Linked DNA regions of Homo sapiens: region 1 is linked to region 2. The links are contacts of gene promoters, found by promoter capture Hi-C in blood cells and fetal thymus (Javierre and others, 2016). All regions are on one chromosome and are shown on one strand. Each heading gives the region's core, a stretch centred on a gene start or on the middle of the fragment in contact. The rest is flanking DNA. Distances are from core to core; before and after follow the strand shown. Region 1 holds the start of UBXN1 (UBX domain protein 1). Region 2 holds the start of SCGB1A1 (secretoglobin family 1A member 1).

Evidence for each region. Contacts are between HindIII fragments. The CHiCAGO score rates a contact against its expected background, and 5 or more counts as called.
Region 1: the fragment with the promoter of UBXN1 here is called in contact with the fragment with the promoter of SCGB1A1 in region 2 in 3 of 17 cell types (total CD8 T cells, total CD4 T cells and monocytes); the score reaches 6.2 in total CD8 T cells.

The regions. Positions count from the first base shown.
Region 1 is chr11:62,677,005-62,683,733 of GRCh38, forward strand. It overlaps UBXN1 (UBX domain protein 1), which reads right to left and starts at 2,069. Exons shown (of 9, transcript NM_001286077.2): 1 at 1,861-2,069; 2 at 1,686-1,739; 3 at 1,491-1,597; 4 at 1,335-1,404; 5 at 923-1,114; 6 at 777-828; 7 at 514-630; 8 at 1. The coding sequence starts at 1,919. RefSeq lists an enhancer at 1,828-2,157. The HindIII fragment of the contact is 15,579 bases long and covers 1-6,729 here.
Region 2 is chr11:62,414,888-62,421,546 of GRCh38, forward strand. SCGB1A1 (secretoglobin family 1A member 1) reads left to right here and starts at 4,146. Exons shown (of 3, transcript NM_003357.5): 1 at 4,146-4,263. The coding sequence starts at 4,209. It overlaps LOC102723765 (a long non-coding RNA gene), which reads right to left. Exons shown (of 4, transcript XR_007062699.1): 2 at 1,818-1,963. RefSeq lists a silencer at 3,170-3,464. The HindIII fragment of the contact is 29,364 bases long and covers 1-5,095 here.

The DNA of each region.
Region 1 (6,729 bases), core at 819-3,318, 260 kb after region 2:
CCTAAAGGGCAAGGGAGATACTCAGTATTGTGGGCATCAAAACTGAATGAGGTGCCCAAGTAAGGAAAAGAGCTAAAGCTGGGCCCCCTTCTTCTTAGATTGAACCAGCACAACTACTATTTAAAGCACCAAATGAACAGCCACTTAGGCTCCGCTTTACTAAGTGCGGATGAGAGACTCCCAGCTCCCTCACAACCTAAGAAAGACAAGGATAAGATTATACAAAAGAATCTGGATAAATACCACATCACCAGATAGCTACATAATAAACCAAATAAAAACATGAACAAGTAAAAGGGTAACTGCTGAGTAAGAGAGAGGTATGGGTTTAAATACAACTGGGGCAGGTGAAATTTGATACCTTTCCCAAGAGTAGAGATAGGATTTCAAAAGTCATTTACAAAGAAGGGAGAGATTTGGCAAAGGGCACGTTAACTGAAAAAAGCTCTGAGCTGGGCACCTTAACACGGAACAAAGGGGTCCCAAGAGGAAGATAAGAATTAGAATCAGTACCTGTATGCGACACTGGTCATACTCCCGCTTGGTGGGAGGCTCCTGGCTGGGAGAAGAGGGAACAGGACCTGGCTCTGGTGCCACTGGGGGTGGCTGAGAGCCCACACTGCCACCATACTAAAGGGCAAAGTAAAACAGTCAATCAGGTACTCACCCATCCTCAGGTGAAACAGATCATATAAGCCCATGCTTTCCCTCTGAAGCTGGAAAAGATTTACTAACCTGCCCACTCCATTACCCGTGGCGTCTTCTCAGTCACCTACCTTCTTGGCTCTCTCTGCTTTGTCCCTCTCGATCTTTTCTCTAACTCTTTGTCTGAAATGTAGACAAGAAGAAATTAGGTCAGACATCAACAAAGCAAATCTTGATTTCTTTCTCATCTGCTATCCATCATTTCCCCTGCCCAGACCTGGCTGCTAACTCCTCGGCCTTTTCCCTCCGCCTCTCCTCAGCAGCCCGGCGCATCTCATCTTCCTGTAGCCGCTGTCGTGCTGCTGACAACTCTTGCCCTTGTCTCCTGCGCTGCCGTTCCCGTTCCAATGCCTCCCGTTCCTCTCTTTCTTCACGCTCCCGCTGCTTCTGGGCCACCAGCTCCAACATCCTGTGTTGCCGAGGGAAAACAGTTCAAGAGAAATGGACAGAGTGGGAAGGTGTAAAGTTTACAATAAACAAAATTAGGCGACATATATCCCAAAGTAGATTAAAGGAAAAGAAAATGCCAAGAAAGAGGAAATGTGGAAAGGTCAAGGTTCTTTGACCAGACGTGTACTGGGGAGAGATGGAAGACGACCCTCAGACACGTGAGATTGTTGTTACTGTACCTCTTAGTTTGTTCCTGTCTTTCCTCTTCACTCAAAGCGGGTTTGCCTTCTCCGGCAGCAGAACCAGATCCTACAAACAAACAATCGGTATTATTATCCCTTCAGATTCTCCTCGGACCCTCCTGAATAATCACACCGTGGACCCTCAGTCAGGACCTTCAAGGCCGCCTTGCTCTGAGGAAGTGGGCTCCCGTCCCAGGATATGTCCAAGGGGAGTCTCTAAAGGCTCGTCCACATCGGGGTCGTCTTCGTGCTCCATCAGCCTGGCAGGGAAAGTGGGCGGGGAGGTTAGCTTTGAGGCTGCCCCTCCCGCCAGCCCCCAATTCTCCGCCACCCGGGACGAGCGCTTACCAGTCCATCGCAGCCTCGATGCCCTGGTTCCCTGTGAGGGCCAGAGCCTTCTCCCTGGGGGCAGAAACACCATGAATAGCGCCCACGAGCCATGGTGACGGTCAGGCTGGGGCAAAGGCCGAGACAGGTCCGCGACCCCCCACACCCGCAGGCCGGGGTTGGGGAACTCCCTTACGCGCGTCCCCTGGGGAAGCCCATCTCGATGAGACTCTCAAGAGCCGTCAGCTCCGCCATGGCGCCGACACCGCGGCTTCCGCGGGGACCTGGTGTGTGACGAGAAGGAGGGCGGGAAGGGTCAGCGCGAGGCAACCCGCCCTCGACACCCGCCGACGGGCGCTCGCTCTCTCACCCGGCTCTATAGCAGCCGGGAACACCGACGAGAAGAAAGCCGAGGGGAAGCGGAAGTGCCGGATCTGTTTGGGTCACGTGGGGGCGGATGTCGACGGGTGCCGCTGAGAACCATAAAACTTCTGGCCCTGCTGCCAGGACTTTCCGTGGGTGGGAACAGGGAGGCAACCCACCAAGCCAAGGCGCCAGGCTGCTGTGGGGAAGAAAGCTGGTGCGGCTCTGAAACCCGTGGGCGGAATGAAGCCAGTTCCCGGAACTTCATCCTGCCTCACCCTCCTTAGAAATTAGAAGGAATATGGTCCCTTAGCGCAATGCTTTGGGAAGTTCTTTGGCAATGTTTGCCAGGAGCAGAAGAAATGTCTTGCTCTTTGGCCCACTCATTCTCCTTAGGGAATTGAGCCATCCTCTGCCTGACTGCCAAAGGGATTTTTGCAAAACACAATCATGTAGTCCTGTCTTCACCTCCCTGCTTAAAAATCCGTGACACTTCCACCATCTAGGACAACTTACTTTTTTTTTTATTTTTTATTTTTGAGATGGAGTTTCACTCTTGTTGCCCAGACTGGAGTGCAATAGTGCAGTGGCGCGATCTCTGCTCACTGCAGCCTCCGCTTCCCGGGTCAAGCATTTCTCCTGCCTCAGCCTCCCGGATAGCTGAGATAACAGGCGCCCACCACCATGCCCAGCTTTTTTTTTTTTTTTTTTTTTTTTTAAGAGGGAGTCTCGCTCTGTCGCCCAGGCTGGAGTGCAGTGGCGCGGTCTCGGCTCACTGCAACCTCCGCCTCCTGGGTGCATGCGATTCTCCTGCCACAGCCTCCTGAGTAGCTGGGATTACAGTCCCACGCCACCATGCCCGGCTAATTTTTGTATATTTAGTAGAGACAGGGTTTCATCATGTTGGTCAGGCTGGTCTTGAACTCCTGACCTCATATGATCCACCTGCCTCGGCCTCCCAAAGTGCTGGGATTACAAGCGTGAGCCAACGAGCCTAGCCATTTTTGTATTTTTAGTAGAGATGAGGTTTCTCCATATTGGTCAGGCTGTTCTCGAACTCCTGACCTTAGGTGATTCACCCACCTCGGCCTCCCAAAGTGCTGGGATTACAGGCGTGAGCCACCACACCCAGCTATTTTTGTTTTTGAGACAGGATCTGGCTCTGTCGCCCAGGCTGGAGTGCAGTGGTGCAATCTTGACATACTGCAACCTCAGCCTCCTGGGCTCAAGCGATCCTCCCACTTCAGCCTCCCAAGTAGCTGGGACTACAGGCACATGCCACCACACCCGGCTAATTTTTCTTTTTCTTTTCTCTCTCTCTCTCCTTTTTTTTTTTTTTTTTTTTTTTTTTTTAGACAAAATCTCACTCTGTAACCCAGGCTGGAGTGCAGTGGCACAATCTCAGCTCACTGCAACCTCTGCCTGCCCCGGGTTTAAGCGATTCTCCTGCCCGAGTAGCTGGGATTATAGGTGGCTGCCACCGCGCCTGGCTAATTTTTGTAGTTTTAGTAGTGACGGGGTTTCACCATCTTCACCAGGCTGGTCTTGAACTCCTGACCTCATGATCCACCCACCTTGGCCTCCCAGAGTGCTGGGATTACAGGTGTGAGCCACCGCGCCCGGCCTAATTTTTCTATTTTTTGTAGAGACGGGGTTTCGCCATATTGGCCAGGCTGGTCTCCAACCCCTGAGCTCAAGTGATCCACCTGCCTCGCCCTCCCAAAGTGCTAAGATTAAAGGCGTGAGCTACATACTCGGCCATCTGGGACAACTTAAATGCTAGTGGTCTGACTTCCTTCTGCGCCCACCTTGGCTTTTTTTGCGGGGAGGGGGGTTAGAACCCCCTCTCAAGTGGAGATCACAATAGCACCTACTTTGGTGCCTGGCAAGGCAGAGTATGTAAATGCTGGTAGTTATTGTGCAGTTTCATCACCCACCACTTGAGGGTAAGCTGTGCATATTGCAAACCAGACTTCACCCTCCTCTTGGCCTGTGCACCAACCAGTCTCCGCCTAGGATGTCCTGTCTCTTCACTTAGTAAACTAACTCCCAGGAGTTTTTCAGGATTCAGGATTTGCCTTCTAAGAAAAGCCTGCTTTGACCACTGCTGTCTGCCTTCCAGCTACAGTATTTAACCCATTAAGCATTTATCCCCACTGCTGTGAGTCACTGTTGATTACTTTGTGCTCCACCACTACCCGGGCTGTTAGATTCCTGAAAGTGAAGCTCACTTTAAATGTTTATTAGAAGGTAGAGTAATAATGACAATAACAGTTACTGATATTGATAATATATGCACTAGAGACTTGTGTGTGTGTGTGTGTGTGTGTGTGTGTGTGTGTGTGTGTGTGTGAGAGAGACAGGGTCTCACTTTGTTGCCAGGCTAGAGTGCAGTGGTGGGATCTTGGCTCACTGCAACCTTTGCCTCCCAAGCTCAAGCTGTTCTCATGCCTCAGCCTCCCGAGTAGCTGGGATTACAAGCACCCGCCACCACATCGGGCTAATTTTTGTATTTTTTAGTAGAGAAGGGGTTTCATCATGTTGGCCAAGCTAATCTCGAACTTGTTACCTCAGGTGATCCACCTGCCTCGGCCTCCCAAAGTGCTGGGATTACAGGCGTGAGCCACCGTGCCCGGCCTGCTAGAGAATTTTGTATGATTAATCCATATTTAATCATCACAACAATCCCTATGATGTAGAAGCTATTTTTAGTCACAAAAAAACAGACTCAAGGCCAGGCATGGTGGCTCACACCTATAATCCTAGCACTTTGGGAGGCCAAGGCGGGTGGATTACCTGAGGTCAGGAGTTCGAGTCCAGCCTGGCCAACATGGTGAAACCCTATCTCTGCTTAAAAAAACATAAAAATTAGCCGGGCATAGTTGCAGGCTCCTGTAATCTCAGCTACTCAGGAGGCTGAGGCAGGAGAATTGCTTGAACCGAGGAGGCGGAGATTACAGTGACCCGAGATCGTGCCATTACACTCCAGCCTGGGCAACAAGAGTGAAACTCTGTCTCAAGAAAAAAAAATAAAAAAACAAAAAACAGACTCAGAAAGATGTTTTTTTTTTGGCCAGGCACGGTGGCTCACGCCTGTAATCCTAGCACTTTGGGAGGCTGAGGCGGGCAGATCATGAGGTCAGGAGTTCGAGACCATCCTGGCTAACACGGTGAAACCCCTTCTCTACTAAAAATACAAAAAATTAGCCAGGCGTGGTGGCACACACCTGTAATCCCAGATACTTGAGAGGCTGAGGCAGGAGAATCACTTGAACCTGGGAGGCGGAGGTTGCAGTGAGCCAAGATTGTGCCATTGCACTCCAGCCTGGTGACAGAGTAAGAGGCCGTCTCAAAAAAAAAAAAAAAAAAAAAAAAGGAAAGATGGGTTTTTTTCTGAGACAAGGTCTGGCTTTATTGCCCAGGCTGGAGAGCAGTGGCACAATCTTGGCTCACTGCAACCTCCTTCTCCCAGGCTCAAGCCATCCTTTCACCTCAGCCTCCCAAGTAGCATGTACCACACCTGGCTAACTTTTGTATTTTTATTATAGTAGAGGTAGGTTTCCGCTATGTTGCCCAGGCTGGTCTCGAACTTGTGAGCTCAAGCCATCCCCTGCCTTGTGCTGGAATTACAGGCGTGAGCCACCATGCCCAGTGCTGGAATTACAGGCGTGAGTGCTGTAATTACAGGCGTGAGTGCTGGAATTACAGGCGTGAGTGCTGGAATTACAGGTGTGAGCCACCATGCCCAGCCAAGATGAGATAATTTACCTAAAGTCACAAAGTAAATAACAAAACTAGGATTCAACCCAAGGCAGTGTGTGTTCTCTAAACCACTATGCTATGTTGCCTCTCCACGGTAGAGTGACAAGCATGGGCTTTATTTTTTTATTTTATTTATTTATTTTTTGAGACAGAGTCTCCGTCTCAAAAAATGAAATAAATAAATAGTAATAATAATGAGATAGTATGACCTCTCGTTATTTGTAAATAAATGAATGCTAAGGAAGGCCGGGCACGGTGGCTCATGCCTATAATCCCAGCACTTTGGGAGGCTGAGGCGGGCGGATCACGAGGTCAGGAGATCTAGACCATCCTGGCTAACACAGTGAAACCCTGTCTCTACTAAAAATACAAAAAAATTGGGCGTGGTGGCAGGCGCCTGTAGTCCCAGATACTCAGGAGGCTGAGGCAGGAGAATGGTGTGAGCCCAGGAGGCGGAGCTTGCAGTGAGTGGAGATCACGCCACTGTACTCCGGCCTGGGAGACAGGGACTCCGTCTCAAAAAAAAAAAAAAAAAAAAGGAAAAAAGGCACAGGGTATTCACTGCAGTATTATAACAAGTGTATTCAGGATAACATATGTATTCTTTTTTTGTTTTTAGAGATGGAATCTCACTCATTACCCAAGCTGGAGTGCAGTGGCACGATCTCAACTCACTGCAACCTCTGCCTCCCTGGTTCAAGCGATTCTCCTGCCTCAGCCTCCCGAGTAGCTGGGACTACAGGCGCCCGCCACCACACCCAGCTATTTTTTGTATTTTTAGTAGAAATGAGGTTTCATCATGTTGGCCAGGCTGGTCTTGAACACGTGACCTCAAGTGATCTGCCCACCTTGGCCTCCCAAAGTCCTGGGATTACAGGTTGAGCCATTAAGCCCAGCGGGGATAACATAGTATTCTAAATTTATTGTAGAGGTTCTATAA
Region 2 (6,659 bases), core at 2,896-5,395:
CCAGGTCCCCTCCTGAGCCTGGGCCCCCTTCATGTGGCTTCCTCCTCCTGGCACATCCCCCGCTTCACCCCAACCACCAGCATCACCCATCCACCAGAGGCCAGCTCAAATGCCAGCCCTCCACGTGCCCTCTCCCCTCTGCCCAGCTACCTTTCTTGGGGCAGCCCCCTTTCTTTTTTTTTTTTTTTTTTTCCTTTTTTTTTGAGACGGAGTTTCGCTCTTGTTGCCCAGGCTGGAGTGCAGTGACGCGATCTCGGCTCACCGCAACCTCTGCCTCCCAGGTTCAAGCGATTCTTCTGCCTCAGCCTCCCAAGTAGCTGGGATTACAGGCAAGCACCACCACAAGCCCAGCCAATTTTGTATTTTTAGTACAGACAGGGTTTCTCCATGTTGTTCAGGCTGGTCTCGAACTCCCAACCTCAGGTGATCCGCCTGCCTTGGCCTCCCAAAGTGCTGGGATTACAGGCATGAGCCACCACGCCCAGCCTGGGGGCAGCCCCCTTTCAACTCCCGGAGCACCATTTCCTTCTCTGACTTCCTCCATCTCCCCACAGAGCATTCCCATCAGTTGCACCCATCTCTGTCTCTCCTCCTAGCTGTTAAGTTCCTCAAAGACCCAGGAGCCAGCTATCCTGTCCCCAGGACCTCGCACCATGAAGGTGGAAAGTAGAGAGCAGAGTCTGAGGCTATGGGTGATGTGACTCCTGCCTAAGACCCCTGCAGCCATCACAGCTGCCCCGGCCAGACCAGCCACTGCCCACAGAGGGATCCACTAGTGGCGGCACTGGATGGGCTTTAGGTGCCCCCAGTGGTCCAGCTCATCTTCCTTGCCCATTTCAGCTCCATTGGCCACAGCTTTCTTTTGTTTGTTTGTTTGTTTATTTATTTATTTATTTTTGAGATGGAGTTTCGCTCTTGTTGTCCAGGCTGGAGTGCAATGGTGTGATCTCGGCTCACTGCAACCTCCACCTCCTGGGCTCAAGTGATTCTCCTGCCTCAGCCTCCCAAGTAGCTGGGATTACAAGCACCTGCCACCACGCCCGGCTAATTTTTGTATTTTTAGTAGAGAGGGGGTTTCACCATGTTGGCCAGGCTGGTCTCAAACTCTCGACGACCTCAGTTGATCTGCCCTCCTCAGCCTCCCAAAGTGCTGGGGTTACAGGCAGGCTACACCTTTCAACAGTCCCTAAGAGGGGAGGGATGCAGACACCTGAAATCCTCAAGATGGGCTAACCTCAAGAGCCCAGATGATGGGACACAGAAGGAAACTTAAAAGAAAGAAGGCACTTCTGAGATGCTTTATGCAAATACAAGCAAATGCATATGTGGATTCTTTTTGCTTTTTTTTGAGACGGAGTCATGCTCTGTCACCAGGCTGGAGGTGCAGTGGCATGATCTCGGCTCACTGCAACCTCTGCCTCCTGGGCTCAAGTGATTCTCGTGCCTCAGCCTCCCGAGTAGCTGGGATTACAGGCAAGCGCCACCATACCCAGCTTTTTGTATTTTTTTAGTAGAGACGGGGTTTCACTATGTTGGCCAGGATGGTCTCAATCTGACCTTGTGATCCACCCGCCTCAGCCTCCCAAAGTGCTGGGATTACAGGCGTGAGCCACCGCGCCCAGCCTTCTCTTTGTTCTTTTTTGCTCTATTCATGCCTTGTTTTTCCCCCTTTGCAGTCTGCCTTGGAGATCATTTCACCATCAGCTCAGAAGATCTTCTTTCTCTGTTTTCAGCCACACAGCGTTTCATTGTAAGGACACACCATAACGTACTTGACAAGTCTTTGTTGGTTGCTAGTTTAGAACGTGTGCTCTTACCGGTGTTAAGGCGTCTCGGAGTGGGACGGTTCCGGGGTCACCACAGCCTTCAACTGTCACATGGCACAAAGGCCTCATGCATGGATTCATTCCAGGGATTCCTGTTTAGCAAGCGTTGCGTACCTTGGCTTACAGCGGCCTCAGCCCTAAAGGAGGTCAGTCAAGTAAAGGAGTCATACAAGAAAATAAGAATTGCAAAGTTAAAATATTGTATAATGGGCCCTGTAAGCAGAGGGGGAAGAGAGGCCCATGGGGAGAGTCACCACCCATCAGAACCACCTGTCGGGGAAGGCTTCACTCCCTATTTTCACCCCCAACCCTATTTTTCCCAAGTCTTCTCTGTGTCAGGAAATAACACCCCATTCCCCCAGCTGCCCAAGTCAGGGTCAGTTCATCAGGAAAGGGATATCAGACCATGTCACTCCCTGATTAAAACCTTCAAGAGCTTCCCACTCTGAGTGTAAAGGCCTTAGAACGAGGCCTTGTGTGCTCTGGCCCCTGAATGCCCCCTTTGCAGGCACAGCAACCCTTTCGAAGCCCTCAGGCACAATGGGGTCCTTCTTTTTTTTTTTTTTTTCTGAGACGGAGTTTTGCTCTTGTTGCCCAGGCTGGAGTGCAATGGCGTGATCTCAGCTCACCGCAATCTATGACTCCCAGATTCAAGCAATTCTCCTGCCTCAGCCTCCCAAGTAGCTGGGATTACAGGTGCCCACCACCACATCCAGCTAATTTTTGTATTTTTAGTAGAGACGGGGTTTCATCATGTCAGCCAGGCTGGTCTCAAACTCCTGACCTTAGGTGATCCACCTGCCTCAGCCTCCCAAAGTCCTGGGATTACAGGCATGAGCCACCCTGTCTGGCCTTTTATTTGTTTATTTATTTTTATTTATTTATTTATTTTTGAGGAGTTCTTGAAGTGCCACGCAATGCCTCTCCATGTCTATCTACCCCAGTTCCCGACTCCTAGCACCACATCTGGCACATCATAGGTGGTCAGCATTTATTGGATGAATGAATGGATCAATATTTGATTGAGTCTTGAAGTACGAATAGAATTTGGCGAAGTGGACAAGGCAGGAAATGTGTATTCAGGCATGAGGCTTAGCTTGTGCATAGGTAGAAAGGCATGAAAAAACATGGAACATTCTCGAATCCACAAATAGTAAGAGAGGGCTAAGTCGTTGTGTGGGGGAGAGGAGAAATGAAGTTCAAATGGTAGGCAAAGGTCAGTGGGCAAGGGCCTTGTAAATTGCACTTGAATTTTATTCTTTAGGCAAAAGGAAGAGTTTAAGGGTTTCAAGAAGAAGGACACGACCAGTGGGTTTTAGGAAGATCATTCTGATGGCCTTTCAGAGGATGGCTGAGGAGAGCTAGCAGGGAGGCAGGGAGGTCGAGTCAGGGGATTTTGACCAGGCCAGGTTAGGTGCTATGAGGCCCGGGCTTTGGAGAAGAACCAGGAAATGGCAACTGGAGGCAAGAAAGGGGAGAAGGCCAAAGCCTGGGAACCATCAACACTTAAGAACAGTAAAGAATAAACATCTAAAGAGAACAAGAAGGAATGGCCAGAAGAAGGAAAACAGGAAAGAACTGAGGCGTGGGAGCGCAAGAGAGAGAATGGTTCGAGAAGGAAGCAGTCACAGGTGTCAAGGCCATTGGGAGGTCAAGTGAGATAAGGACTGAAGGTCCCACCAATTGGGCCATCAGGAGCACAGGACTTGAGAGCACTTCTGGGTGGGAACAGACCCAGCCTGGGGCAGGGCTCAGGTTTCTGATGGGAATTCTGGAAGGGTCCCTTTTATTCAACATGCTTCAATCCAGGGGCCCCCGAAGTCTGACCACAGCAATGCTCCAAACCATGTGTCTTTCCTGGCTTAAGGTTCAGTCGCCCTCCTCAGAGGGGAGCCTATGAAAGAGCCCAGTGGAGTGTCAGGGTCCTGAGTCCTAGTCCTAGTCCTGTCCCTGCCACTTGTGAGGGAACTTGGGCCTCAGTTTCTCCAGGTGGGCTCCACAATTGCTTCTCTTGATCTGGACTGCCCCAGTGCCCAGGTTCAGTGAGTGACACAGGCAGCTGGGTTTCCACATCCTCTGACTTGGGTTCCCTTCACTGCCTCCAGGCAGGGCTCGGCCCTCCACCCCCAAGTGGCCCATTGTGTGAGCTCAGTTTCAGTGGGGACAGAAACTGGGTTGAGAAAAGGGAATATTTACCTATCCCACCAAGCCAATGCCAAGTAAATAGTGCAGTATCTTATGTAGAGCCCTTGCCCTGCCCTTCCCCATCTGGGTGCTGCTGCCTAGAGCATATAAAAGGCACCTTGCTGGGCATGTCTCATACTAGCCCACCAGACTCAGAGACGGAACCAGAGACGGGCCAGAGCATCCCCCTCCTCCACCATGAAACTCGCTGTCACCCTCACCCTGGTCACACTGGCTCTCTGCTGCAGCTCCGGTGAGTGCTCAGAGACCCTTCCCTCCCTCCTGGACTTAGGAACTCTCAGGACCCCCCAGTTCTGCTCAGAAGAAGGAGTGAGCTGCCCATTCCTGCTCTGGAGCTGCTGGGAGGACCTGGGCATGCTGAGTCTCAGAAAACTGGGTCTGGTGAGCAAGCTCATCTTGGAAACTTGGAGAGAGCCCCAGGCTGTAAGGAAGCCTAAAAAGGGTCCCATCTTCTATATCCAACAACCCTCAGAATCCCAGGGAATGGAATAGCCTGGAGGGAGGAGTGGAGAATACCCCATAAAGATGAGTACATCCAGCATAGGAATAATGAGGCCCTCATCCCAGATCTGGACAGACTCCAAGATGCTGAGACCTTGGTGCAGCCTCCAAGTCTGGGGTCTCCACTCCATGCTGGCAGCTGAAGTCACTGGAAGGGGAGCTGCAGGGACTCGTGACCCCAAAAGAAACCCAACCCAAGACAAGGTCTCTCATTCTGGGCACAGAGGAATATTCCAGAAAGAGAGCTTCCCTTTGGGGAACTGCCAACCCAGAGTGAAGTTTTCTAAACATTTCCGTCCTCTGCAAAAGGGATTAGGAGTCTCTGAGTAGTTGCTGCTGTCACTAAAAGGAAAAGAACTGTGGGGGGAAGAGGGGCAGAAAGAGAGACGGAGAGAGGGGGAGAAAGGAAGGAAAGAAGGATCACAGCTCTCTCCAAGATCCCCCGTCTTTGGGGAACTGGGTTATCTAACTCTGTTTTTCACTCTGCGTCAGCCTCTTCCATTCTCATCTGAAAATGCTGTTGTTATTTTTTAATAAACAAACTCCAATTAATTCACTTGGAAAGCTTCACAACACCCATGGAGATAAGTTTTATGACCCTGGGGAGTTAGAAAACCCAAACCAAGAAGCAGTAGGAACAACTATTTTGCAGAGAGGTTTATTTGTTTTTCAGAGAAAATGACATCATTTTGGACTGAAATGTGTATTAATTAGAAGATCTCAGTGCTGTCTGCGTACAGAGGTGGGTGGCTGAGCAAGATAGGACTGCAACATGTTAAGGGGTGGGTCAGAGATGCATTTGTCTATTTGTGTGCACATGCATACAATATTTAACACTTACTTCACACAATGTGCCAATCACTGTCACCCTTTCACATAATATCTCTTTTCATTCTTTTTTTTTTTTTTTTTTGAGACAGAGTCTCGCTCTGTTGCCAGGCTGGAGTGCAGTGGCGCGATCTCAGCTCACTGCAACCTCCGCCTCCCGGGTTCAAGCGATTCTCCTGCCTCAGCCTCCCAAGTAGGTGGGATTACAGGCACGCACCACTGCACCCAGCTAATTTTTGTATTTTTAGTAGAGACAGGGTTTCACCATGTTGGCCAGGATGGTCTCCATCTCTTGACCTCGTGATCCACCCACCTAGGCCTCCCAAAGTGCTGGGATTAGGCGTGAGCCACCATGCCTGGCCTCTCTTTTTATTCTTACAACAACCCTATGAAGTAGGGATATTGGGCCAGGCACGGTGGCTCACGCCTGTAATCCCAGCAATTTGGGAGGCCGAGGTGGGTAGATCACTTGAGGTCAGGAGTTCAGGACCAACCTGGCCAACATGGTGAAACCTTGTCTCTATTAAAAATACAAAAATTAGCCAGGCATGGTGGCGCATGCCTGTAGTCCCAGCTACTTGGGAGGCCGAGGCAGGAGAATCACTTGAACCTGGGAGGCAGAGGTTGCAGTCAGCCGAGATGGCATCACTGCACTCCAGCCTGGGCAATAGAGCGAGACTCCGTCTGAAAACAAATAAATAAATAAAAATAAAATTTAAATTAAATTAAAATTTAAAAAATAAAAAATAAAATGAAGTAGGGATATTGTTCCCATTTTACAGATGAGAAAACTGAGCTACAGAAACACAGAGTGACTTGCCTGGTGACACAGTAAGTTACACATCAAGGACCTAAGTTCTGGAGAGGGTCTGACTTGGAGTGGCAATTTCTAGTGAGGCCCTAGAGTCAGAGGAGGGAAGGCAAATTTGTTCAGAAGGCAGAGAATTCAAGGAAAAGGGATTTGAGACTCACTGGGAAGATGGAGGCAAGCAGTGGGTAGAAAATGGTGACTTTCCCCCATGTTCCTGGTTGTAAGGACCTGAGAAGAAAACAGAGTCTGGAAGCTCTGTGTTGAAGGGAATGAAGTGGTACAAGTGGCTGCTCTGTCCATGAGCTGAGTGTGCCACAGGGCCCGCTGTGCACATGTGCACACCTCTTCCCGGCCAGGTTCGGGGGCCCATGTTTGGCTGGTACAATCTCAATGGCTTCTTTTCTTTTCTTTTCTTTTCTTCTTTTTCTTTTCTCTTGCTTGCTTGCTTGCTTGCTTGCTTGCTTGCTTTTTGAGACAGAATCTCGCTC